3 separate regions of the Homo sapiens genome follow, and regions 2 and 3 are each linked to region 1. Evidence: promoter capture Hi-C in 16 types of primary human blood cells and fetal thymus (Javierre and others, 2016). All regions are on one chromosome and are shown on one strand. The core of a region is centred on a gene start or on the middle of the fragment in contact, and the rest is flanking DNA. Distances in the headings are between cores, read along the strand shown.

Region 1 (2,537 bases), core at 16-2,515:
CTCTGCTCATTGTGGGCTTCCCCCTCTGCAGGCCCTGCCGTGGGCCCAGCCCCTGCCAGCTTCCCCTATGGATATGCCTCTGCTCCCAACTTCGCCAGCCTCCAATGTACAACTTCCGCGTGTAGTGGGCGTTGTCACCACCCACCCTACCTGCAGAGTTACTAACTTCTCCAAGGAGCATGTCACTCCAGCAGCACAGGGGACGCAATGGGAGGCAGGGACACCTGGACAATATTTATTTTTGCTGAAACCCAATGACGGCAACCTCTGAGCCATCCCAGAGCCTGGGGAGGCCAGGGTAGAGGCTGACGGCGCAAGACCAGCTTTAGCCGACAACAGAGACTGGACTGTGGGCCCTCCTGCTGGAGCCAGGCCTTCCTCCTGGGCGCCTCCGACTGGCTGGAGCTGCCCCCTCCAGGCCAGTTTGAAGACTACATGAACACGTCTTGTTTGGAGGTACCGGACCTCATAAAAGGACTCTCAGCCTCTTGGCAATCATAAATATTAAAGTCGGTTTATCCAGGCAAAGGTGCTCTGCTTGGTGCTGGTATGGGTAGGAGGGACGGGCCAGTTTCCTAGGCCCCGCAGTCCATTAAAGATTTGCTGGGTCCTCTTTGGGGTGTGGGACCTCCGTTGCCCAGACAAGCTGCCTAGGAGAATACAGCCGCTTGCATTTGTGGTCTTTCCTGACCTTGTTCGCTGAGCGCAGAAACTACAACCGGGAAAGGTGTGGGTGGGAACCGGCAGGTGAGGCCCGGCCCGTGGCTGCTGCGGGAGGGGGGCCCGGCGGCGTAGCCCCTTCTCACCGGCCTCCCGCCTCCCGCCTCCAGGTTTGAAACGTTAGAGTTCCTCTGGGACTGGGCTAGCCCCACGTGTTTTCGGGGAGGGTGTGCCCCTGGCCTCCGGGATCCCTGGGGATCCCGCCGCTCTCGACAGTCGCGCAGACCCGAGGCCCGCTATCCCGCGGCGCGGCACACAGTGCACCTTGACCCACTGCTCGGAGCTGGGCCACGGCTCCGCCTCCCGCAGCCCCGCCCCCGTCCCGCCGCTCGCGGTCGCCCAGGGACTCGGCCTCGGCCATTGGCTGCGCTTTGGCCCCGCCCCTACGCCTGCCTCGGCGCGCCCCGCCCAGGCCTCAGTTTCCCGGCCCGCACGGGGCGGGCTGGGGGCGGGGCCTGGCTCGGACCACGCGGGGCGGGACCTGGAGCTGACGCGGCCGCCCCGCCCCTGGGACCATAACCGGCCGCCGCCGCCACCGCGGACCGAGCGCGGAGTTCTGGAGTCTCGGACCCGAAGCCGCCACAGGGCGCCCCGCCTCCCGCCCGCCATGCCCGCGCCCCGCGCCCCGCGCGCTCTGGCGGCCGCCGCGCCCGCGTCCGGGAAGGCCAAGCTGACGCACCCGGGGAAGGCGATCCTGGCAGGTGGGCCCCTCCGGGACGCGGACCCCTCTCCCGCCGCGCTTCTGGGTGGGCCCGGGACGCTGAGGCCCCGCCCCACTTCCGGGTTGGGCCGTGGGCTGGGGAGTCGTGGAGGCGCGGTCCTGGTCCCCACCCGGCGCGCTGGGACTCGCCCGCCTCCCGTCTGTCACCCCCTGCGCCTCGCCGGGACAACGGGGTGAGGGCATGGGGGCGTGGGGCCCCAGCCTATGTTCCCCGCGGCACTGGCGCGGCGGCCGCGCCGACCGAAGTCCGGGACGGGGGAGGGGCCCGAGCGCCAGCGGCCGGGCGGGAGTCTCAGGAGCGGGTTCCCGGTCCCTGCAGGCGGCCTGGCGGGTGGCATCGAGATCTGCATCACCTTCCCCACCGAGTACGTGAAGACGCAGCTGCAGCTGGACGAGCGCTCGCACCCGCCGCGGTACCGGGGCATCGGTGAGGAGGGGGAGGCCGCGGCGCCGCGGGGGGCGGGTACCCAGGGCGGCGGCACCGAGGGCCGTGGGGTCCTGACCGCCCCCTCCCCCAGGGGACTGCGTGCGGCAGACGGTTCGCAGCCATGGCGTCCTGGGCCTGTACCGCGGCCTTAGCTCCCTGCTCTACGGTTCCATCCCCAAGGCGGCCGTCAGGTGAGGCCCGGCCGGTGGCTGCTGCGGGAGGGGGGCTCGGCCGCGGCAGCCCCTCTCACCCGCCTCCCGCCTCCAGGTTTGGAATGTTCGAGTTCCTCAGCAACCACATGCGGGATGCCCAGGGACGGCTGGACAGCACGCGTGGGCTGCTGTGCGGCCTGGGCGCTGGCGTGGCCGAGGCCGTGGTGGTCGTGTGCCCCATGGAGACCATCAAGGTGGGGAAGGTCCTGGCGAGGACCCCGGACACGCAGGGAGTACGGAGACGGGCGGCCCCGCTGGCCCGGTGCTCCCGGGGCAACCGGCAAGCTGGGGAGGGTCTCCTGGACGCCAGGGAAGGCCGGCGGGGTGACCGCGGGGCCCTGGGGCAGGACGCCTGCCACGAAGGGCCACCCGTGGAGGCTGAGTCTATGCTAAAGGCAGCCTTAAAGTCTTTAAAAAATACTTTTATAAAGCAGAAAACAAAATGACACCTTCACTG
Region 2 (2,537 bases), core at 22-2,521, 230 kb before region 1:
ATTACCCCTGTAATCCCAGCACTTTGGGAGGCTGAGGTGGTCGGATCATGAGGTCAGGAGATCGAGACCATCCTGGCTAACATGGTGAAACCCTGTTTCTACTAAAAATACCAAAATTAGCTGGGCGTGGTAGCAGGCACCTGTAGTCCCAGCTATTCAGGAGGCTGAGGCAGGAGAATGGCGTGAACCTGGGAGACGGAGCTTGCAGTGAGTGGAGATCACGCCACTGCACTCTAGCCTGGGCGACAGAGCGAAACTCTGTCTATAAATAAATAAATAAATAAATAAATAAATAAATAGTTTCATTCCCACTAATGGAATGTGAGTGACTGCTTTCCTTGGGATGGAAAGGCCTAGTGCTGTAAGGAGGCGGGGAGCCAGCACTGCGCTGGTATCTGTGTAGGTCCCCTACCATATTTCATCTAATCTGCATAGCACTAGGAAAGGAAACCTGGTGCCAATGAACCAGGCACGCCTTCTCAAAATAATAAAAATAAAATAAAATAAAATCTCAAGGCTTTGTAGCTGGGTAAGTGGCAGGGCTAAAGATTCAGCCCATGATGTTTAATGCCAAAACCCAAACTTGTTGCCAGCCTCCATCCCTGCCTTCCCCTGGAGCCTTGAGGCCCCCACCCCCATTTTCCACACTGCTATTGTGGAGCCAGAATGTGAATCTGACCTTGGCATTACCCTGCCTTGAAAGTACCTTTAGAGAAATGTCTCAGCTCCTTACTGATGCTTGCTGAGCCATCTCTGTCTCCTCTTCTTTCTCACACTCTCTACCTGCAGTCTGCTCTGCAACATTACATCAGCCTATTTCTTGATTCCATGCCGTGCGTCCCCTCAGCCTGAAAACCCTCTCCTTCACCCGATCTTCTGGCTAACTCTTACTCAACCCTTGGGACCCAATTCAGTTATTATTTCTGCAGGAAGCCCGAGGCTGAGTCAGGTGGCTTTCTGCTTGTGAAGTGTCCATCAGTGGACATCTTACTAGGGGAGTTTGTATGATTATGTATCTTTACTTTCTCATTGCTTAGCCTAATGCCTGGCACATAGTAGAAATCTGCAAACAGAGACTGAGTGAGAAAACATGCAGTTGATGCTGTGAGTGGGCATGATCTAAAGCGCATGGGCTGTAATTGGTTACTTGTGCAGCTGAGCCCTCAGCACAGCCTGGCTCAGCCTGTACGTGCTCTTGGGTAGTCAGGGGAACTGTGACTTGCAGGTAAGGGTTTCTGGTGTGCTTCTTGAGGGGACTGATGTAATACAATGTCTCACAGACTTATGGAACTGAAAAGCACTCCAAGGGGAGGGGAATGTTCCGCCCTGATTGCCCGTCAAGACCAAAGCTGTCAGCTAGAACATTTTTTGTTAAAATGACAAATGCCCAGCTCAAGCTGGCTTAAGCAGAAAAGCAAATGAATTGGCATTTTGGTTTATCTCTTATATGACAAACCCCTAAATTTGCTGGCTTAAACCAATAACAGTTTTATTATTTGCTCATAATTCTGCAGCTTGTCAGGACTTAGCAGGTTCAGCTCATCTTGGCTCTATGGAATCTGCTGGGATGGCTCGAATAGCTTGGGGATAGAACACCTCACCAGGCCTGTGTCTGTGACCTTGATTCTCACTTGTCCGGGCTCTTTGATGCTCTACATGTGGCCAGCTTGGGCCTCTTCAAAACATGGTGGTCTCAGGGTACTTGGACTTCTCACATGACAACTAGGTTTCTCCAGAGAGCCAAAGTTGAACTGCTAGACTCTTAAGGCCTACACCTGGAACTGGAGCAACATTACTTCTGTCATTTCCCTTTGGTTAAAACGGGTCCCAGGTGTTTCAGATAAGGGATACTCAACCTATACTACATAGTGACCAGTAAGAAGGAAAGTGTATTTTATCTCAAGTTCATGCTTGATTTGACTACATGGCTGCGGCTCTCCACAGCTGGGTGCTGCCTGGGTCCCATGCTGGGCAGTGCCTTTTGGGCACCAGCATTTAATTTTCACACTTGCATGGGAGCCCTGGCAGGACTTCACAGTTCTCAGACAGCCACTGCCTGCCCACACACTCCTGATCCCAGTACTTGCTGAGTGATTCTAGGGCTGGTGACTCTGGTACTGTGTCCACATTGCCTCCTCTTGGGTGACAGAGACAGAACATGTTCAATTAAGAGACTCTTGGCAACAGCCCATCTATATCAGCAATTGTTGATGCTCAGATCATTGTCATGTATCTCCTTTGTCAATGAACAAATATTACTGCGCTACTGTACACTGGGTACTGTGCTAGAGGCTGAAGATGTGATGAACTCAACAGCAACTGACATGCCACTTGTAGCTCTTAAACCTTTGTCCTAGAAGCAGGGAGCTGGACAAATGCCCACCAGGCGTGAGTGCCTTCTATGGTCTGCTGGGTTTCAAGCTCCTACAGTGCTTTTGCCGGTCTGATCCACCCACCCAGCCAGCCAGCTAGCTTCATGGGATCCTAGTGCAAGCCTAGGCCCATACTGGGCTCTTTGGGGCTTCTAAGAACTAATA
Region 3 (2,537 bases), core at 12-2,511, 180 kb before region 1:
CACTTTCAGCATCCCCCACCAGAGTGGGGCACACCGTCACCCAAAGTTTACATTTGGGTCTACTCTTGATGTTGTACGTTTTACGGGTTTAACCAATGTATAATGACATATATTCATCATTATATATCTTACAGAATAGTTTTTTGGGTTTTTTCGAGACAGAGTCTCGCTCTATTGCCCAGGCTGGAGTGCGGTGGCACAGTCGCATCTCGGCTCACTGCAACCTCCGCCTCCCAGGTTCAAGCAATTCTCCTACCTCAGCCTCCCAGGTAGCTGGGATTACATGTGTATGCCACCACACGTGGCTAATTTTTGTATTTTTAGTAGAGATGGGGTCTCACCATGTTGGCCAGGCCAGTCTCAAACTCCTGACCTCAAGTGATCTGCCCACCTTGGCCTCCCAAAGTGTAGGAATTACAGGAAAGAGCCACCACACCCAGCCAGAATAGTTTCAATGCCTTAAAAATTCTGTGCTTCATATAGTTACCTTCCTTTCCCCAACCCCTGGAAACCACTGATCTTTTTATTGTCTCCATGGTTTTGCCTGTTCCAGGTTGTCATATAGTTAGAATCACCCCTTTTCTTGTATTTATTTATTTACTTATTTTTTGTTCTTAGAGATGGGGTCTCATTATTTTGCCCAGGCTGCTCTCAAGCCTCTGGGCTCGAGCAGTCCTCCTGCCTCAGCCTACCAAGTAGCTGGGACTACAGGCATGAGCCACTGTGTCCACCTACTATTAATCTGTCTTTGTCTTTTGTAGTTAAAATTAAATTTTTAAAAACATAAACCCATTTCTTTTTTTTGTTTTTTTTGTTTTTTTTTTTGAGACGGAATCTCACTTTGTCACCAGGCTGGAGTGCAGTGGCACGATCTTGACTCCCTGCAACCTCTGCCTCCTGGGTTCAAGCAATTGCCCTGCCTCAGCCTGCCGAGTAGCTGGGACTACAGGCACACGCCACCACACCCGGCTAATTTTTTGTATTTTAGTAGAGACAGGGTTTCACCGTGTTGGCCAGGACGGTCTCAATCTCCTGACCTCAGGTGATTCACCCACCTCAGCCTCCCAAAGTGCTGGGATTACAGGCGTGAGCCACCGTGCCCGGCCTTATTCTTTTTTTTTAATCTTCACTTCTTTTTATCTTCTTTTTCTGCCTTCTCTGGTTTTAGCTGAGTATTTTATATGATTCAGTTTTCTCAGCCAGGCATGGTGGCTCACGACCATAATCCCAACACTTTGGGAGGCTGAGGCGGGTAGGTCACCTGAGGTCAGGAGTTCAAGACTGGCCTGGCCAACATGATGAAACCCTGTCTCTACTAATAATACAAAAATTAACCAGGCGTGGTGGCACACACCTGTAATCCCAGCTACTTGGGAGACTGAGGCAGGAGAATCACTTGACCCCAGTAGGTGGATGTTGCAGTGAGCCAAGATCACACCATTGCATTCCAGGCTGGGCGAGAAGAGTGAAAATCCATCTCCAAAAAAAAAATGATAATAAAATAAAAATAAATTTTCTCTCCTCTCAGCATTATTAATTATGCTTTAAAAAATTTTTTTTAGTGATTGCTCTAGAGTTTACAATAAACATTTATAACCTAACTCTACTTTCAAATAATATTATACCACTTCATGGGTAGTAGAAAGAGTTCCCCACTCTTTCCTTCCATGCCCTATGACATTGGTACCACTTATTTCACTCATTCATAAACTATAGTAATTCAAGACATGGTGGCTGTTATTTGTTTGAACAGAAAGTTGTCTCTCAGATCAGTTGGGAATATGAAATACAAAAGATTCTATTTTATGTTCATTGTTTTTTTTCTCTAACATCACTCTTCCTTTCTTCATGCAGATGTGAGTTTCTGGCCTGCATCATTTATCTTCTCTCTGAAAGACTTTTAACATTTCTTGCAAGGCAGGTCTTCTGGCAACAGATTCCGGTGTCTCTTTGTTTATTTTTGTCTGACAAAGTCATTATTTCTCCTTTACTTTTGAGGCATAATTTCACTGGACACAGAATTCTAGGTTGGCAAGAGGTTTGTTTAAGCACTTTAAATATTTCACTTCACTCTTTCTTGCATGAATGGTTTCTGAAGGGAAGTGTGATGTAATGTTTTTGTGCAGGTTAAAAGAGCAGAACCTTGTGAAAGAGCTGAGGCCCCGAGACCTCCTGGAGAGCAGCAGTGACAGCGATGAGAAAGTCCCTTTGGCTAAGGCTTCCTCACTGTCCAAGCGAAAACTTGAGCTTGAGGTAGAGACAGTAGAGAAGAAGAAGAAAGGGCGGCCTCGGAAGGACTCTCGTCTCATGCCTGTGTCTCTGTCTGTCCAGGTGAGGCCAGTGGGCCCATCCTGCCTTCTTTAGCCCACCTTTCTGTACTTAGAGCTTGAAGGCCCTGTGTGCATGGTAAGCCTCAGCTGGGTGGGTCACCTTGGGAACCAGCTGGCTTAGACATGCAGCCCCTGGAATGTAGCATGGAGGCCACGCTCTCCCTCAGATGTGCCCTTGACTCACCCAGGGCCCTTGAGCAGGTTCCC

The links. Contacts are between HindIII fragments. The CHiCAGO score rates a contact against its expected background, and 5 or more counts as called.
Region 2: a fragment that was not itself captured here is called in contact with the fragment with the promoter of SLC25A1 in region 1 in 1 of 17 cell types (megakaryocytes); the score reaches 5.2 in megakaryocytes.
Region 3: a contact is called between a fragment that was not itself captured here and the fragment with the promoter of SLC25A1 in region 1, in 1 of 17 cell types (total B cells). The highest score is 5.3, in total B cells.

The regions. Positions count from the first base shown.
Region 1 is chr22:19,177,464-19,180,000 of GRCh38, reverse strand. It overlaps SLC25A1 (solute carrier family 25 member 1), which reads left to right and starts at 1,265. Exons shown (of 9, transcript NM_005984.5): 1 at 1,265-1,421; 2 at 1,761-1,868; 3 at 1,960-2,059; 4 at 2,136-2,274. The coding sequence starts at 1,328. CLTCL1 (clathrin heavy chain like 1) reads left to right here. Exons shown (of 33, transcript NM_007098.4): 33 at 32-528. RefSeq lists silencers at 669-768, 969-2,048 and an enhancer at 1,220-1,967. The HindIII fragment of the contact is 6,402 bases long and covers 1-2,537 here.
Region 2 is chr22:19,411,358-19,413,894 of GRCh38, reverse strand. The region is part of intron 1 of HIRA (histone cell cycle regulator); the gene reads left to right. Among named protein-coding and RNA genes, the nearest start is that of HIRA, 19 kb to the left of the region's middle. The HindIII fragment of the contact is 3,879 bases long and covers 1-2,537 here.
Region 3 is chr22:19,361,521-19,364,057 of GRCh38, reverse strand. It overlaps HIRA (histone cell cycle regulator), which reads left to right. Exons shown (of 25, transcript NM_003325.4): 16 at 2,127-2,331. Among named protein-coding and RNA genes, the nearest start is that of HIRA, 69 kb to the left of the region's middle. The HindIII fragment of the contact is 4,046 bases long and covers 1-2,537 here.